Linked DNA regions of Homo sapiens: region 2 is linked to region 1. The links are contacts of gene promoters, found by promoter capture Hi-C in human tissues and cell types (Jung and others, 2019). All regions are on one chromosome and are shown on one strand. The core of a region is centred on a gene start or on the middle of the fragment in contact, and the rest is flanking DNA. Distances in the headings are between cores, read along the strand shown. Region 1 holds the start of KLB (klotho beta). Region 2 has its middle 6.2 kb from the start of RFC1.

Region 1 (3,198 bases), core at 629-3,128:
TGACTCAAAAAGTTAAATTCGATTCTAGATATTAGCCTCAATGTGAGGCTAAATCTCTTGCAAATTCCTGAGTCTTCTTTTCAAAGCATTCTTAATGAAGACAGTTAGTGTTAATTATGTTGTCATTTAAAAAATCCATGTCCACAACAGCTGTATTTTACTCCTTAACCTTGGGAAAATTATTTAATCTCATTAAGCTTCAGTTTCCTCATCTTTTAAATGGGAAGAATAATAAAACTAGTTCAAAAGGCTGTTAAGAGGATCAACTGTAACGATGCATGTAAAATACTTAATGTAGTCTGTGGTACATAATAAGTACTCAGTAATTATTACCTATTATTTTGCTTGTATTTTCACTATTGTTTTACTAATTTTAACATTTCTCAACATTATCTCTAGCTTTTGAAATATATTGCTTGAAAATTGCTTTAGTAGAGCACATTCTTCCCAGTTCTTATGGGAAGAAATGTGTTTAGCTCCCATAACAATTAATCTTCTCTTTTTTGCTATGTAACACAAATAAAATCAAAAGTGAAGTATATTTAAATTTCTGTATTTAATATGCATGAGTTAGCTAACATTTATTTGGCTTACTTATTTACTTACTTTATTTACTTATTAGCTAAGTTAGCTATACTTAACAACAAATACATATTTGAAATGGTTGTGCCTTAAGATAATTCTGAAATGATTGCATGTTGTCAGAAAAGGGTTCCAACAATTAAATTTATGAAGCACTGTTTTCCCACAGAATGAAAGTAAGCTCATATATTCACACTGTAGTGTATAATGGTAGATTTAAAAATAGCCTCAAAGTGCAACTTTTGAAAAAACTAATTGGATTAATACATTAAAAATACCTTAGATAAATAAAACATACACTAACTTAAATGCAAAATTTGAGGATAGATCTTTTGAATTAGCTTAAAATCAGTTGCCTTGATTTCAGTGAAGAGAATTACTGAGGCAGAAGGTAAATTCTTAAATTCTTAGTGTTTTCTGAAGCTATAAGAAGAAGCTAGCTGTACAGTACCTTGATCAAGTTGTGTCCCACAGTGTAGACAGCTGCTAAATTTCCCTTCTCTCCAGGGGCATGCATACCTGTCCCATACCCATGCCAAGCCACTAGATATGGGTTGTGAATTGTAATCCAATATTTGACACGGTCCCCAAACATCTGGAAACAGTATGTGGCATAGTCATTGAAGATATCTATTATGGTATCATTTTTCCACCCCCCATATTTTTCTTGTAGTGCCAAAGGCAAATCCCAGTGGTATAAAGTAACTATAGGTTCAATGTTTCTAAGCACTAGAGCGTCCAGAAGAGTACTGTAGTACTGCAGACCTTTTGCGTTGGCAACTGTTACTATTCCATCGGGGAAAAGCCTTGGCCAGGAAATTGAAAATTGATAAAAAGAAACTCCTATAAAATCCAGGGCTGATAAGTCTTTTTCCAGAAAAATATAACTGTCACTGGAACCATTCGTGCTGCTGACATTTTTAAGGTGTGTGTGGATGAAATGATCCCATATAGAAGGTCCTTTTCCATCCTTCTTCCAACTCCCTTCCACTTGCAATGCTCCAGTCCCAATACCCCAGAAAAAGTTTTTAGGGAAAGTGTCATAGAGAAACAGCTGACTTTCATTTACCGGAGTAAAATTAGGATTTTTAGACCATATAGCTCTTCCATCTCCAGAGAATCCAGTAACAGCTCGTAGCAGAATAAGTGCTGACAGGATGACAGATCTTTGCAATCCCCCGTTGGACATTGTATTCCTATAGCGTGTGGTTATTTCATCAGTGCTGAAGAAAATCCATTCATTCCCTGGAGATCCTGCCGCACAGCCTGGCTTCATTTGCCACCAACTGCTGGACTGTCTTATCAAAGCTTCAGTAAAAGCTTGTGATTGTAAAGCTCTGTCAATGATTAGCTTGAACTGGGAGACTGAGGATGGGTCATAGAGAGCAACGTAATTTGAGGGAGGTGGCCCTATTGCAGTCACCAACGCGTCTCCTTCTCTCTCATTATGGAAAAAATTAGATGAAAATGCATCGGTGACAAGAGTTTGAATGTGTAACTAACACATATGTAAACACTGGATTAAAATCACATTATTTTCCGTGTAGCCTTTCATATTGACCCAAATCTTTTCTGAATGTTTTGAACATTATTGAATAAGGTATATAGCTTTTCTATTTTTAGAGTTTTTGTGTGGTAATTTTATAATCTCATATATCAAGAAAAATAACATATACAAGTATATAGCATTCCTACATACCAATAGTAAAGAATTAGAAAACACAATAAGAAATTACACTTCTCCACAAAATTATAACGCATCTAAGAACAATCTTAATAAATGTTACCTATTTTAGGAAAATTGCAAAAATGTATTGGTAGATTTGAGAGAAGACTTGAATGAGAAAATATAGCACTTTGTGGATGGAAAAATGAAATACTTTTCAATTTAATACATTTAACTTAACTAAAATCCTCTAATCTCTAATTTTATTTTTTATTTTATTTATTTAACTTAACTAAAATTCTCTAATCTCTAATTTTTTAATTAATTAATTAATTTTTAATAAGAGTCTTGCTTTGTAGCCTAGGCTGGAGTGCAGTGGTGTCATCACAGCTCACCGCAGCCTCAACTTCCCAGGCTTAAGCAATCCTCCCTCCTCAGCCTCCAAGTAGCTGGGACAACAGGCACATGCCACCATGCCCAGCTGATTTTTGATTTTTTGGTAGAGGTGGGGTCTAGCTATGTCCCCCAGGCTGGTCCTGAACTCCTGGGCTCAAACAGCCCTTCTGCCTCGGCCTCCTAAAGTGCTTGGGATTATAGGTGTGAGCCACCATGCCTGGCCTAATCCCAAATTTTAGTTCAAGAAAATTATTACGAAAGGCCAGGCACAGTGATTCATGGCTATAATCCCACCACTTTGGGAGGCCAAGGCAGGCAGATCACTTGGGGTCAGGAGTTTGAGACCAGCCTAGCCAACATGTTGAAACCCCGTCTCTATTAAAAATACAATTAGCTGGGCACGGTGGTGGGCACCTGTAATCCCAGCTACCTGGGAGGCTGAGGCAGGAGAATCTCTTGAACCTGGGACGTGGAGGTTGTAGTGAGCTGAGATCGCACCACCGCACTCCAGCCTGGGCAACAGAGCAAGACTCGGTCTCAAAATAAAAAAAAAA
Region 2 (3,361 bases), core at 186-2,685, 34 kb after region 1:
GTTGCAGTGAGCCCAGACCGCACTATTGCACTCCAGCCTCGGCGACAGAGAGAGACTGTCTCAAATAAATAAATTAATTAATAAAATTTTACAAATAAACACAGATTAAAGTAGGAAAGGCATAAAAAAGGAATCCCAATACATTCACATCTTCTATAAAATATACGGCAAAAATCTTACTCAGATAAAATCTGGTTCATGACCACAACAGGATATAAACAATACTTTTAACATATCCATTTAAATTGTTAGTTGCTATGAAGAGAGCTAACTTTGTTTTAGTACAAATAAGGTAAGTGCTTTGGACTCTACATTTTAAAATATTACACCTGCGTTGATGGCTTCATATAACTATTAACATTAGCTCTGGATGGTGGTGCTTCATATAAATATTATCATTAGCTCTGGATGGTGGTAAGCACTTGATAAAGTAAATACAGTTTATCACTAATACCTGAGATTCTCTAGACATTTTTTTTTGAGACAGAGTTTTGCTCTTGTTGTCCAGGTTGGAGTGCAGTGGAGCAATCTTGGCTCACTGCAACCTCCGCTTCCCGGGTTCAAGCAATTCTCCTGCGTCAGCCTCCTGAGTAGCTGGGATTACAGGCATGCGCCACCACGCCCAGCTAATTTTGTATTTTTAGTAGAGATGGGGTTTCTCCATGTTGGTCAGGCTGGTCTTGAACTCCCGACCTCAGGTGATCTGCCTGCCTTGGCCTCCCAAAGTGCTGGGATTACAGGTGTGAGCCACTGCACCCAGCCGATTCTCTAGACATTTGTAAGAAAATGTTTTAGTTTAAGAGTGTGTGCCAGGCGTGGTGGCTCACGCCTGTAATCCTAACAGTTTGGGAGGCCGAGGCGGGTGGATCAGTTGAGATCAGGAGTTTGAGACCAGCCTGGCCAACATGGTGAAACTGTGGCTCTACAACAGAGACAGGGCAATAGAGCGAGACTCCATCTCAAAAAAAAAAAAAAAACAAAAACGAAGTGTGATTAGCAAAACTATAAATTGAAACTCACTACTATAGTTGAATTTCACCTCTTTTCCGTTCTCTCACTGATTGACTTTAAGTGCCAAGAATGATTATTAAAATTGCATAAAATGAAGACAAAGAGTAGTTCAGTTGTCAGCAAATCTCTACACATTAAAGAAATATTTTTCTTAGCGATTGCTCTAAGAAATATATATACATAAAATATATATGTATAATAGGATATCTCCTATTTAGAAGTCGTCATAGTTTCCTCATTCATACACCCTGCATTATAGATTGTGTAGAATTTAAATACTGCTATTCATATTTCCACTGGAGGCCGGGCACAGTGGCTCCTGCCTGTAATCCCCGCACTTTGGGAGGCCAAGGTGGGAGGACTGCTTGAGGCCAGGAGTTTGAGCCCAGCCTGGGCAACAGAGCAAGATCCCGTCTCTACAAAAATAAAATAAAATAAAGTAAAAAATAAAATAAAGTTCCACTGGAGTCAAAAGTTCTGAAAATTATAGGTGAATATGTAATTATAAATAGAAATAATTGAACAAGTAATAGACTTAAACTAAAAGAAATTTTGTATTAATGGCAACTACTGATAACTTTATGACATACTAAAATTATTTCTCTATCAGCTAAATGCAACCTATGCCATTGTTACCTGCTTCATAGAGATACAGATGTTATTTTTTGTGTGTGTGCAGTGTAAATATTTTATCCTCATTTCATTCATAAAATTCACTGAGGTAGGGAAAGCTTTTACTGATCTTTCCATTCAGCCTGAACAGCCAGCAAAATATATTGCATATGGAATAGATGCTTCTTTTGCTCAATGGTATATGTATTAGCCCATTTTCACACTGCTCATAAAGACATACCCAAGACTGGGCAATTTACAAAAGAAATAAATTTATTGGACTTGCAGTTCCACATGGCTGGGGAGGCCTCACAATCACGGTGGAAGGCAAGGAGGAGTAAGTCACAACTTACATGGATGGCAGCAGGCAAAGAGAGAGAGTATGTGCAGAGAAACTCACATTTTTAAAACCATCAGATGTTGTGAGACCCATTCACTATTACGAGAACAGCATGGGAAAGACCTGCCCCATGATTCAATCATCTCGCACTGGGTCCCTCCCACAACATGTGAGAATTATGGGAGCTACAAGATGAGATTTGGGTGGGAACACAGAGCCAAACCATATCATTCCATCCCTGGTCCCTCCCAAATCTCATATCTTCACATTTCAAAACCAATCATGCCTTTCCAGCAGTCCCCCAAAGTCTTAACTCATTTCAGCATTAACTCAAAAGTCTACAGTCTAAAGTCTCATCCAAGACAAGGCAAGTCCCTTCTGCCTATGAGCCTGTAAAATCAAGAGCAAGTTAGTGACTTCCTAGATACAATGGGGGTACAGGCATTGGGTAAATACAGCCATTCCAAATTGGAGAAATTGGCCAAAACAAAGGGGCTACACGCCCCATGCAAGTCTGAAATCCAGCAGGGCAGTCGAATCTTAAAGCTCCAAAATGATCTCCTTTGACTCCATGTCTCACATCCAGGTATGCTGATTCAAGAGGTGGGTTCCCATGGTCTTGGGCAGCTCCACCCCTGTGGCTTTGCAGGGTACAGCTTCCCTCCCAGTTGCTTTCATGGGCTGATGTTGAGTGTCTGCGGCTTTTCCAGGTGCATGGTGCAAGCTGTCAGTGGATCTACCATTCTGGGGTCTGGAGGACGGTGGCCCTCTTCTCACAGCTCCACTAGGCAGCGCCCCAGTGGGGACTCTGTGTGGGGGCTCTGATCCCACATTTCACTTCAGCACTACCCTAGCAGAGGTTCTCCATGAGGGCTCCGCCCCTACAGCAAACTTCTGCCTGGGCATCCAGGCATTTCCATACATCTTCAGAAATCTAGGCAGAGGTTCCCAAACCTCAATTCTTGACTTCTGTGCACTTGCAGGCTCAATGCTACGTGGAAGCTGCCAAGACTTGAGGCTTGCACCCTCTGAAGCCACAGCCCAAGCTCTACATTGGCCCCTTTCAGCCACGGCTGGAGTGGCTGGGACATAGGGCACCAAGTCCCTAGGCTGCACACAGCACGGGGACCCTGGGCCTGGCTCATGAAACCACTTTTTCCTCCCTGGGCCTGTGATGGGAGGGGCTGCTGCAAAGGTCTCTGACATTCCCTGGAGACATTTTGTCCATTGTCTTAGTGATTAACATTCGACTCCTGGTTGCTTATGCACATTCCTGCAGCCGGCTTGAATTTCTCCTCAAAAATAGGATTTTGTTTTCCACTGCATTTTCAGGCTGCAAATTTTCCAAACTTTTATGCTCTGCTTCCCATTTGAAACTGAATGCCTTTAACAGCACCG

The links. The method cuts DNA at HindIII sites, captures the fragments that hold promoters and counts their contacts. A contact is called where the count stands out against the background at its distance.
Region 2: a contact is called between a fragment that was not itself captured here and the fragment with the promoter of KLB in region 1, in 2 of the 25 tissues and cell types used here (spleen and stomach).

Annotation. Positions count from the first base shown.
Region 1 is chr4:39,405,610-39,408,807 of GRCh38, reverse strand. KLB (klotho beta) reads right to left here and starts at 1,878. Exons shown (of 5, transcript NM_175737.4): 1 at 1,034-1,878. The coding sequence starts at 1,858. The HindIII fragment of the contact is 19,436 bases long and covers 1,045-3,198 here.
Region 2 is chr4:39,370,898-39,374,258 of GRCh38, reverse strand. No RefSeq gene overlaps it. Among named protein-coding and RNA genes, the nearest start is that of RFC1, 6.2 kb to the right of the region's middle. The HindIII fragment of the contact is 4,681 bases long and covers 1-3,361 here.